Regions from separate parts of the Homo sapiens genome. Here region 2 is linked to region 1. Evidence: promoter capture Hi-C in human tissues and cell types (Jung and others, 2019). All regions are on one chromosome and are shown on one strand. The core of a region is centred on a gene start or on the middle of the fragment in contact, and the rest is flanking DNA. Distances in the headings are between cores, read along the strand shown.

Region 1 (6,374 bases), core at 2,687-5,186:
GGCAGTTGGAACATGCCATTCACCTGAGGGCTGTCAATCGTTCTCATTTTGAAAGACACAAAACTTATGAATTGTCAACACATCATTTAGGTGAGAAACCAGTGCTCATCAAGAGAAAAAATTAAAACAAATGCTCAAATAAATAGAAAATCAAAATGCTTCCTGGTCATTTTCTTCCAAGAGCTTAATACAGATAATCTACAGTTCATATGCTATAAAAATTGTAACATGTGAGATATGGACAACAAACTGAATGGCTATTACTTTTCCAATGGAATAGAGTCTAGAGAACAATTGCTTGAATTTTTCTTTCTATTCCATATAAAGTAAATTATTTGTCATTGAGCATCCCCCATAAATACAATTATCTAATACTGAAACTGCTGACAGCCTTGTAGGCTATTTCAGTAGTGGAAGCCAGGACTAAACACACTCAACTACATTAGAGGTTGTCCCTGGAGGACAGAATTGAGCTTCATTGGCAAGGGCACCGTAAGAGTTCCATTTGACTCCTCATTAAACCTCTCACAGGGATTCTAGCTGCTTCTCTGTGTCTGCGCTTGCTTTTCTATAGAAGAGATAGATGTGAACCACGTAGGCAAAGATACATTTCTACATATTTAGGAAAAGATCGCTTTTCTTGGTAAAAACTAAGCCTCCTATAGATTTTAAAAAGACCTTCCAGTTTCATGATCATTAACCACCTTTTTATAATTTTCAAAGGAAGTAGAGAGCTTTATTTCAATTTGTGAGAACTTATTTTTCAATGCTTGTTTTATGGCATGTCAGAGATATTATTATTTTTCTGTGTTTATTTTTTCTCCAGGAAAAGTAGCATTAGGGGAAAACAGTTGGTGATAATGATCTCAGCCTTCTTTACCTAACAATGTGGTTGTCATAATGAAATCTGGACCAATATGTAGAAGCAATTGGTGAAACATAAATTACTATATGCACTGTATGTTGCCCCTGGCTGTTTTGTTGATTTGGAGTCTTGAAAATAGCATAATAAGATTTATCATACTTTGGAAGTATTGTATTGAAAAACCAGTCAATAGCTCAAAGAAACACAAAACATGCTCTATGAATTGAAAACCCCACACTGTGGATGACACAGCATTCACATTCTTTATGAGAATCTCTTCTAGGACACTGTTATGGTTTAAGTGCAATAAAAACAAATGAAAGTATTTTATCCAGCAATAGCAATGTAAAATACTTTTCTCTAGAGAGGAAATTTTCTGTGATTATAAAATAATACTTTCAGTCTTCAGCCCATCTAACCACAATGTTACTAATAAAATAACAACAATGCCAATTACTAATGCTTTACTACTTACTGTTTACTGTTATTGTTCCTCCAAAGTGGTCCACATAATATATATATATATATATATATATATACATATATATATATATGCACAAAGACAGAAAGAGCTGAACAAATTGTGATGTATGACTAAGAGAAAAACAGAAAGACGCAGCAGAATATGATTATTTAAAAGGGAGCCTCATTGTGAAAGTTCTTTTAGCATTTACAAGATTAATTTATGATCAGAACTGCTTTAAACGCCCTACGCACATCAGGCAAGGCTATATCCATGTATACACACAGACATATGCATACACACAAATGAATATCATCATACAGACCCATAATTCACAGACACATTTTAAAATTAAATGCTACTCCAAAGAGAAATTGTTGGCATCCTGTGAGTGTGATTGTTGCCCTTGGCCTATATATATCTTATGTTCTAGAGATTAGATCACTTTACAGCCACTTCTGAGGGCGAGTGGGAATAAAATGCTGCTTCAGGAGCGTCAAAATAAAAAGAAAACATATTAAACCAAAGTTCCTATAAGTGCAATCCCAAGGATTAAATGTTCAGATAGCCCGTAAGTCTAACCCAGAGGGAGGGAGGAGCAGTTAACATTTTCTCAAAAGAAAGAAAATGTCCAAACCAATGATGAGTGGACATGAGGGACCTGAAGAGAGCATGTGATGGGAATGTGAAAACAAAAGAAGCTTCTAAAAGAAGACACCAAGGATAATATTCTCACAAAAATTCAGACCATCATTCTATATTTTCATGCATATGAATTTTGGTACATATTTCATGCATATGAAATTTGGTACATATATACATATATGTACCATGCATATACATATGCGTACATATACATATACGTATGCATACACATATGTATCTATGTACACACATACACATATGTGTACACACATATGTACATGCACACACATATGTGTACACATATGTACATGCACACACATGTGTGTACACATATGTACATGTACACATATGTGTACATGTACACATGTGTATATATACATATTCACACTTATGTAAACATATTCAATCTAAAGCTTCCTTAAGACACATACAAACAACAACCAAATGATTAGTGTTTGGCCATTGCTCATGCAGCAAAAGCTGAGTAAACACAGCTCTGGATCCTTTTCTCAGGCCACCACTCCCTAGCTGTGTGACTGACAAAGTCTATGCCTGAACACCTACATTCATGACCAGGGTGGCCTTTCCTGTCTCCTGTTGCCCAAGCATGTCTCAGGTATAAATAAGTTCCAATACTGACAGGGCACAGCAAGGGTAATTTACATGACAATAAGAAATGATTTCTATCTGAACAGTGCATACCAGAGTTGATTTCGACAGACTTATCTTTAAAAAAATACACATAACAAAAAAGGAGACAAGTAGTAGATTGGGGACCCACAGCTTGAAAGTCGTTGCTTGTGATTCTAAAACATCCCAGTAAAATTATTCACAGATAATTGTTTAAAAATATAACTGTACATACCGTTGACACTTGGACAACACAGAGAATCACGTAGTTGAAAATCCACATATAACTTTGAACTCATCAAAACCTTAACTACTAATAGCCTACTCTTGACCGGAAACCTTACTGATAACATAATAAACAGTTGATTAACACACATTTTGTGTTGTATGTATTGTATACTGTATTCTTACAATAAAGTACGCTAGAGAACAGAAAATATTATTAAGAAAACCATAAAGAGGAGAAAATACATTTATATTCATTGAGTGGAAGTGAATTATCATAAAAGTCTTTAACGTCATCCTTTTCAGGCTGAGCAGGCAGAGGAGGAGGAAGAGGGTTTGGTCTTGCTGTCTCAAGGCTGGCAAAGGTGGAAGAAAATCTGCATATAACTGGACCCAACAGTTCAAACCCGTGTTGTTCAAGGGTCATACATGTAAAATACTGTGATTTTTCCCCCTTCTATATTCAGCTTCAGGTGACCCGACACACTTTGGTATCAAAAGAGAATCTGAAATGTACAAGAACTGCGGATTTCAAATGGAAAAGGTGCATAATTGTGCTATTTGTTCCTGGGTGAGTGTGGGACGGAGACGGTGAGAGTGTTGAAATGGGATGGAGATAATGGAAGCAGTGGGGAAGGAGAGAAAATACCCTTCCTATCACACACACTCACACACTCACACTACACACTATTTCTACAGTCACAACTACCCAACTGTTATTGATCCTTTATAACTGCAATTGAGTACAGATGTAGGAAGATTGAGAGGGAACTGGGATCTGGCGCCTGGATTGCTCAAGAGAGGTCAGGGAAACCCCTCAGAACTCCTGAGACCCAGAGATTGAGGGAGGGGTTGAGGCGGAGTCTGCAATGGGGGCTGTCCAGCAGTAGCAAGCAGCGGGCCGATCCTGGTGGAGGGTTGGGAGGCTGCTGTCATTTTATGGGTCGGCAGCCAGAGTGAGAGTGTCCCTGCTGCCAGAGGACTACGGCGGGCTGGGCGCGGGGTCCCCGCCTCTCGCTCACCACACAGACCCCGCGCCTCCTCTGGCAGCCGCGGTGGTGGCGGCGGCAGAGCCTCGCCCACTCCAATCCCCACCCTCTCCATCCTTAGTCATTAAAGAACAGCAGCGCCTGGCACGTTCTTGGAGGACCCCGGGCGCAGAGGAGGAAAGGGAGCAGGCGCAGGGGGACTGGAAAGGCAGCATGCGCTCGCCAGGAGCAACCTCGGCGCCCAGGGTCTGAGGCTGCAGCCCCAGTTCGCCATTGTGAGCCGCCGCCGGGGGAGTCCGCTAGCGCAGCCGTGCCCCCGAGTCCCCGTCCGCGCAGCGATGGGGCACCTGCCCACGGGGATACACGGCGCCCGCCGCCTCCTGCCTCTGCTCTGGCTCTTTGTGCTGTTCAAGGTAGGGGAGCTCCTCCACCCCTTTTTCCCAGCGGTCCGGGCGGCAGCCGCGCTCCGGCGCCCTCGCTCTGCCGTTGGGAGCGGCGCGCCCCAGGGCACGATGGCCCAGCCGCGGGAAGCGCCTGCCGTGCAGCCTGGGCGCACGCTTTGTTGTCCTCGCGTGTGCGTGTTCCTGGTGGTCTTGAGAGGTAGGGGGCGGGGGGAAGAATAAGGGAAGTTTGCTCCCTCCGGCTTTCGCCCTTTGTGCTCTTTTATCGCTGCTGAAATCCACATCAAAGGTGGGCTTGTTGGATCGTGCTTTCTCAGGCAAAATGAGGTCACTTTCTTTTCTGGTTTCCACTGCACCCCAACGCTGCTTAACCTTTCCGCCCTCCCTCGCACAGAATGCTTTGTCTTAATTTTCCTTACTGCTGGAATTATACACTGGAGAGTGGAGGGGGACTGAGCTCCCTGGACACAAATGGACTGCCAGGGCTACGTTAGGGCAGAATTTTCTTTGAATAAGGAGTGTCAGGTAGAGAGCTTGGTAAGGATTCCTCTCCCCAACTCCTATCAACATCTTTACAATTCCTTTTAAAAAGTCTCCAGACTTTCTCCACTATATTTACAGATGATATTACCCCTAGATTTAATGGTGGAAAAATATATAATAATAAACTTTTTCGTATCTTCTTTGGAATGTGCTACCCTGAGGTTTTACTTTGAGAAAAATGAAAAGCAAAGGAGTTGCTTTTGAAAAATCAGTTTGACAACTATACTGTACATAAATTTTTTTGAAGAAATGTCAGCTAGATGTTTTCTTGGACGGCGATGTGAAGTTCTGAAGTGATTGTCTATCACTCATGTCTTCAGTGGATCTACTTTAGTTCTGTTGTTAGTCTTTTCCTCTCTCCGCAAAGCAAACTCAAGAATGTCGACAGGTGACTTGGAGCTATCCTTTCAGGACCACAGTGATACCTTCCCTAGAAATGGATGCCAGGTTAATGGATCCAAAGGTTTTCTTATTATAGAGTCACTTCTTGCTTATATGCACCATTAATTATGAATGCCTAAAAAGAATATAATGGAACAGGACCAATGGATTAAGAACAGCATTACTTTTAAATACTCCATATTTTCATTTATCTTAATGAAAAATATAAAAAAAATTCAGGGAGAAACAGCAACAGAATGCCTAAGTAAGACCTTAAAATATATTTAATATGTTTTAACATTTTTTCTTAAATTATCAATAATCATTAATTTTAAAGTATGGTAAATAATAAGCTCAGTTATATGTTTTTACTGTAGGAGGTTGTTCTTTCATACACATCATAAATGCATTAGACTTATTAGGTTGTCTATTAGTCGTTTTCTAACTATTTATCAAACTGTCACAACTATTTTACCTATGCAATAATTGTCATGAACCAAAAATTAGAAACCAAGTCACTATGCATTTTACGAGCAACAGCTAAGAGTTATATGTATGACATCTGATCCAAACCTAACGTTTAGCACAACTGCAGGTTTTTGCGTGAGTTCTTCATAATGAGATAATTCCAGAAATAAGAGAATGACTTGGTTGGGAGTGGGGGTAAGGTTTTGCAATTAAAATAAAATAAATGTGGCCATTGTTTGACTTAAAACTCGATATTGGAATGAGAAAATGCAGTTAGTGATGGTGTAATGAAAATGTTAGTGATTGTCATAGAGGTCCAGCCTGCTTCACATAATAGGTATATTCCTGAACATTGCAGGTAAATGTAAATTATGGCAAACTGCTTCCATAGTAAATACATTGGCAAAGTTTGCCATTTAAATAATAATTATTGTAGTGGGACACATAATTTTGTAAGAAAAATCATTTTCCTTTATTTTATGTGAATGTAATATTTTTGTCACCTGAATATAAACTATATCAGAGGAAAGAAGAAAAAACTGTATATATTAAATACCTTCTATGTGCTGGTTTTTTAGGCATTTTACATACGTTATTTCATTTAATCCTATTTTGCTGCAGTTGACAAGAGTTGTTCAAAAAAAATGGTAAATTGGGCACACAGTGTAATATCTTACATTTAGAGGATAGTATATTACATGGTGCGTTGGGCACATGGTATAATCTCTTTATAATTTGGAGATATTTTTGAATTAAAGGTCCTG
Region 2 (6,374 bases), core at 2,504-5,003, 97 kb after region 1:
ACTTTGGAACCTTTCCCAATACTATGCCCTTGTCGTGTTGAATGAACGAATGAATCATGAGTTTCAAGCCTAATGTTTCCCACATGTCATGATTAATGGTCAAACTAAATCTTGGTTCCTCTTTCTCTCTCTCTCTCTCTTTCTTTTTTTTTTTTGAGACAGAGTCTCGCTCTGTCGCCCAGGCTGGAGTGCAGTGGCACAATCTCGGCTCACTGCAAGGTCTGACTCCTGGGTTCACACCATTCTCCTGCCTCAGCCTCCCGAGTAGCTGGGACTACAGGCGCCCACCACCATGCCTGGCTAATTTTTTATATTTTTAGTAGAGACGGGGTTTCACCATGTTAGCCAGGATGGTCTCGATCTCCTGACCTCATGATCTGCCTGCCTCGGCCTCCCAAAGTGCTGGGATTACAGGCATGAGCCACCGCGCCCAGCCGGTTCCTCTCTCTTAATTCAGTTTCCCAGGGTCTTTACTGACAGCCCTCTGTTAAGAACTGAGCAGTTTCTTGTATCCTATCAGTGGTTTTGCCACTTCCTTCTTTTTTTTTTTTTTTCCCCACCAACATGCTCCTCTCTTTCTCTAAGTGAAGTTGTGCAGTTTTTTTTCTCTAAGCTATAAACAACTACACTTGGGATCCCAGGCCTTCCCTTCATTACCCTTATGAATATGCCTTTGTGTCAGTGGTTGGCCAGAGACAAATAGTAATAATAGAAAATCAATATACTGTATGGGGAGAAGTGGAAAAGTGCCTGGATATAAGTTTTACATTAAGGTTCGGTCTATACACAATCATATTGATTAGATGTAATTGATAGATTATCTTAGTATTATTCACATGACATTATTTGTGCCTTCCTGAGAGGATTCTACCCTCCCATGATTCGTGGAACTATCTAAACAACTTCCTAGGAATGATCCTCTCCTTTACTCCTACACAGTCCAACTACATGCAAAGGTGCCCGGCACATGGTTAAAAAACAATACTACCTGTGCAAATACAGACGCTACTCAGCTTATAATGGACATACAGCCTGATAAACCCATCATAAGTCAAAAAATACATTTAATACCCTGATAAGCCCATCATAAAGTCACAAAAGCATAAGTAGAACCATTGTAAGTCAGGAACCGTCTGTATAAGGTATCAAGACAAATAAAAGTGAATACCACACATACTACTTGTGAACTTTTAATAACTCTGAACACAAACAGCTTGAAAACAATAATTGGATAGATGGTCTTTAATTCATGTCTTTATGAAAATAGCAAAAGAGTATATTGAGAATGATTGAATCAAATTTAACAAAACCTTGCTTCTCAGTGTGACTCCTCGACCATCAGCATTGAAATCACCTAGAAGCTTACTAGAAATGTAGAAACTGGGGCCCACCCCAGACTTACTAAATCAGAATCTGCATTTTTAACAAGGTCCCCAAGAAAATCAGTACACGCATTATGTTTAAGAAGCTACTCTAATGAGTACGCATTAAGTATTGATCACACTCCAGTTCCTTCTTAGAAAAGAACTGACGGCACGGCTTAACCAGTGTGACTAAAGGAATGATCTCAGTGTTGGTCTGTCCTAAATTTTCCTTTGTGTCTACCCTGAACTGAGATTCGCCAGGGCCTTTAATACTAGGATTTAGTCTTCCTTTATGCATGCACTCAAATTAGAGCCTTTGTCATCTGAGTCTTTACAGATGATATCTCTCAACAGTGCTGGGAGTGTGGCCTAAAGCAATGTAATACTAAGTGAAGTCAGAAAACTGGCTACCCATCTGCAAATTGTTTGTTACTTGTCTGTCATAATATAGCAACTTTGGTAGAATATGCATGATGACATAAGAAGCTTGTGCCAAAATGTAAATCACCTACATCACTAGGCACACTCTTAATTTCAGCTGCTATTTTTTTCTTAGTAAAACTTTTTCAATGAAGGAAGTAGCATGTTGATTTCTACTCAAGCATAGCTTGTTACCTCCTTGTGGACAAGAACTTTGAATAGCACAGGCAAAGTGATTAAATGCAGAAGGCTGCTCTACTTGCTGCAGTGTGAATGTGGTTAATCACAACAGGCCCTACATATTAGAGCACAAATTAATTATGGCTATAGATTAACTGCTTTGTTAACTCCATAATTTCTCTGGGGTTCACAGCTAGATTCCCAGTACCTGGCACAGAGATGGCCTTCAGTGTCTGTTGAGTGAATGAAGTGCCTAGCTCAACTCTCATTGTTTACCTGTTGTTGTAGTTGTTTCTTCTGGCTTGGATTTCTAAAGCTCCTGAGGTATAGATACTGTTGATTTTACCTAAAGAGGCTTCAGCAGAAGAGAACAATCACACAAGAACTAGAAAAGACAAGGAAGGTTTTATGAGGAAAATGAACATTAATCTAGAATTTGAAGGAAAAATGGGACCCACATCAGCATCATAGAGAAAAGGGGATTCCTGGCAAGGAGAACATGGAATTTTGTGGAATGCACAGAATGTAGGAGGTAGGAATACATATGGCATTTCAAGGAATGAGTGTGCCATACGTCAGCCAAAGGCTGAGGCAATGGAGTACTGGGAGGAAGTGTTAAGAATTATGGATGGACCAGATTCTTACTTTAACATCTTTTTTTTCCCCTAAGCCTAATGTGCTTCCAAACTTGCCTCTTTTATTAAATGATATTCATAACAAAAGCAATACTAAAGTCCTTCCTTGCCTGTTTCCTCTACACACATAAAAATTAAACATTTAAATAAAAGTAGAAAAATTGTGACACTTTTTTAAAGCTTCAAGAGTAAGATTTCACATACAGATGACACATTTTCTACAATGTAAAATTTAGAGCATTACTAACGCATATTAAATGCTAGATCAGTCTTTCAAGTTACAGTACACAGAAGATAAAAATAGGTGCGATTTGGAAAGAACAAAGGTGAACTCGAAGCATACAGTGAATAGGCACAAATCAGCTACAAATTTTAGCAGATATTCATGCGCTTATTGAAATAAGCCACCTTTTCCTGCATTTGTGCCGACAAGTCCATTTATCCTTTTTAAGATGCTCCAGTAACGATAGGAGCATTTTGGGGGCGGGGGAGGGGGGCTAATTGATGTGATCTAATTTTTCAGACTCAGGAGTTTTGGAGAAAGGTCAGTGTAACAGAAAAGCTGCCCATTAGAAATAACATCTATAAACTGTCAGAAAAGAGTGCAAGCCAGAAGATGAAGCAATTCAGATTGCTTCCCTTCTTTTCCAAGGTTCTTGGGAAAAAAATTTCATTACGCATAAGAAGTATAGCTAAATACTTAACTGAAGTTAAAACAAAATCATGTTTTCTAACAGTTCAGGTGAATTTCAAGCCATCCAGGCCACAAGATAATGATGTCCTCCAAGTCTGACCTACAGGGAACTTTTCTTCTAATTAATAAACAGACTACAGCAAGAAAATTAATTTATGCACCGCATTTACTTGTTGATGCCCTTCGAGAGCATAACATTTCAGTAGGCACTGTGTACACGAGATACAGCAGAAGAATACGTCAAAGCTAGTTCTTTGGTGTTTTTTTTTTCCCAGAGAAAATAGAGGTAATCCAACATTAGACAGAATTTGTCGAGATTACTAGATGTACATTCAAAACATCCATTCAACAAACCAATTGAATTAGTTGCATATAAGAGTGTCCCCTCTGGGCCGGGTGCAGTGGCTCACGCCTGTAATCCCAGCACTTTGGGAGGCTGAGGTGGGTGGATCACGAGGTCAGGAGATCGAGACAATCGTGGCTGACACGGTGAAACCCCGTCTCTACTAAAAATACAAAAAATTAGCTGGGCGCGGTGGCGGGCGCCCATAGTCCCAGCTACTCGGGAGGCTGAGGCAGGAGAACGGTGTGAAACCGGGAGGCGGAGCTTGCAGTGAGCGGAGATCGCACCACTGCACTCTAGCCTGGGCGAAAGAGCGAGACTCCGACTCAGAAAAAAAAAAAAAAAAAAAAAAAGAGTGTCCCCTCTGAATTGTACTCTTCAGGATTCCCTGGGTGCCTTTTTAAAATTTAAGTCTGCTACTGCCTCTTTCATAACTTATGGGGCAGAGCCCTAATTCCTTAGCATGTCATGAGAACTTCCAAATCCAGGTTCTGCCTGCTTATTCAATCTGGTTCCACTCTCATGCCAGCCACTTCATACCTAATCCTCCACCATTGCTACCGCCAGTGTCTGAATGCATCTCACCTGCGTGCATTTTACCAAGATTCTCCCACTGCCTGGAATGAGACCACACCTTTTTCACCCTGAAACACAGCCATTCCAATTGTGGAAACTCAACTCAGGCACCTGTTCCTTCCCGTCTTACCACATTTCCTGACCAACTCATGCCACCATTGAATGGCCCCTTAAGCTTAAGTCCTCTTATTTTTGCAGTGATTAGACGAAATACTATATGTAAATTATTTAGCACCATGTCTGACAGTAGTAAATAACTATCATTATATCACATGTTATTATAACTACACTGGAGAGACAATATAACATGGTGGCTAAATGAGTAAAACTTGACATCATACTGCCTATCTTTCAGTACTTATTGTTCTGTGAATTTGTCAAGTTAATGGGCCCTCCCTTCTGGGTCAGTTTTCTTACCTGCAAAATGGGTACAATAATAGTTTCTACCTCACGGGGCGTTTGTAAGAGTTGAATGAGTTAGCACAGAAAAAGCACTTAGTGTCTACCACATACTAAGTATGCAATAAATGTTAACTGTGCTGCTGCTGATGATGTACTTTTTAAACACTTTAATAAAAAATTTCAAATATATGCAAAATTAGAGACAGTGGTATGCATATACTGAACACCCAGCTTTAGCAATTATCAAATTTTGCCATTATTGTTTATTTATCTATTTCTCTTTGGTCTATTTTTCATTAATGTAGTATTTTAAAGCAAATTCCAGACATTATCATCAGTTTCCCTTTAAATGCTTCTCTAAACAATGATGACTTTCTACATAGAACCACAGTTCCTTTTACATCCCTATCTTGCAAATACGTCTAAATAGGATATTTCATTTAACTTACTTATTTTCCTATCTTTCCTTCTGGGCTGTAAATCCTTGAAACCAGTGGTTGTGATATTTAATTCATTTAAGCTGTAATTCACTGGCTAGAACACGGTAGTAGTGCAATAAATGTACTTTTTAAAGAGAGAGAGGGAAGTAAAAAAGAGAGAAGGGAGAGAGTTAAGGAGAGAGGGAATAGGAAGGGCTCACATAACAAAATAAGACATTAAACAAATGTTGACCTTAGAATAGGCATAGTACAACTAGTGCCTGAATAAGCAGTAAGTACCAAATGCTGTGATCCTAGAGAGGTGTCTCAGAAACCTATGCATAGCCAAGTTTAATTTGCCAGCAGGTTTTTACTTCATTGACTGGTCAGGTAGAGAAGAAGAAAGCAAAAATAAAAGAGTGTATTATTCTGTATCACAATGGTATCAGATTGTTTATTTTGGAGTCTGTGTCTATTTCTCATTTCCAATAATTTATGATATCATTTACCATTATTAAAGGAACCTTATTTTTAAAGCCCTGTGACACCTAGTGTGAAGCAGAAGAGTTTGCAAAGTTTAAACATCATATTGTTAAATTCTGGAGTGGCTTTAACTAGCTGTGTGATCTTGGGCAAGTTACTTGCTTTCTCTGCTTCAGTTCTTCATTTTTAAAGTGTGACAGGATTAGCACCTATCTCATAGGCATGACATGCTTAGAACAATACCTGATACATGAAAAGAATTTTTAAAATTTTATTTATTATCTAGTTATAAGAGAACAATGAAATAAAACAAATATGAAGCTCGCCCATTTAAAGAAAAAAAAAAGAATGATTTCATTGAAGATACTTCCTCTGCCATGGAATTGCTAAATGAAACTTTGCAGCAATTCCAAAATAACTTGCCCCAGGGAGTAGGATTGGATTTTGCTAAACTGAGGATTTAAGATTTACAATTTTTTGACTGTAATTCATTCTTACCTCTGCCAAATGTGATTGCAAAGGGAAAGAAGACATCATAATTGTACGAAAGGGTTTTAACCAGGTTTTCTTGTTTTTTGTTTGTTTGTTTTTACTAATTGTTTCAGGGCATTTGAGGCAATTGTAAGAGCTTACACATGGTAACCACTACATAAATATTAAAATGATGGCTTGGTACAAAAATGACTTTATGATTAATAAAATCACAAAAACTTGGAAAAAGAGTTATAAAAATTCTCCATAATTGAGTGCCAACTTTGGGCCTAATGTTTTATATAGTAGGTAGAACCCAATAACTGCCAATTATTTGGCAGTTTTGATGTTAGAAAAGGCCACGGGATAAAGTTCGGACAAAATACA

What was found. The method cuts DNA at HindIII sites, captures the fragments that hold promoters and counts their contacts. A contact is called where the count stands out against the background at its distance.
Region 2: a contact is called between a fragment that was not itself captured here and the fragment with the promoter of PTPRO in region 1, in 2 of the 25 tissues and cell types used here (hippocampus and mesendoderm cells).

Annotation. Positions count from the first base shown.
Region 1 is chr12:15,318,572-15,324,945 of GRCh38, forward strand. PTPRO (protein tyrosine phosphatase receptor type O) reads left to right here and starts at 3,937. Exons shown (of 27, transcript NM_030667.3): 1 at 3,937-4,230. The coding sequence starts at 4,156. The region is part of intron 2 of LOC105369673 (a long non-coding RNA gene); the gene reads right to left. The HindIII fragment of the contact is 7,625 bases long and covers 2,208-6,374 here.
Region 2 is chr12:15,416,183-15,422,556 of GRCh38, forward strand. All of the region lies in intron 1 of PTPRO (protein tyrosine phosphatase receptor type O), which reads left to right. Among named protein-coding and RNA genes, the nearest start is that of PTPRO, 97 kb to the left of the region's middle. The HindIII fragment of the contact is 4,296 bases long and covers 1,606-5,901 here.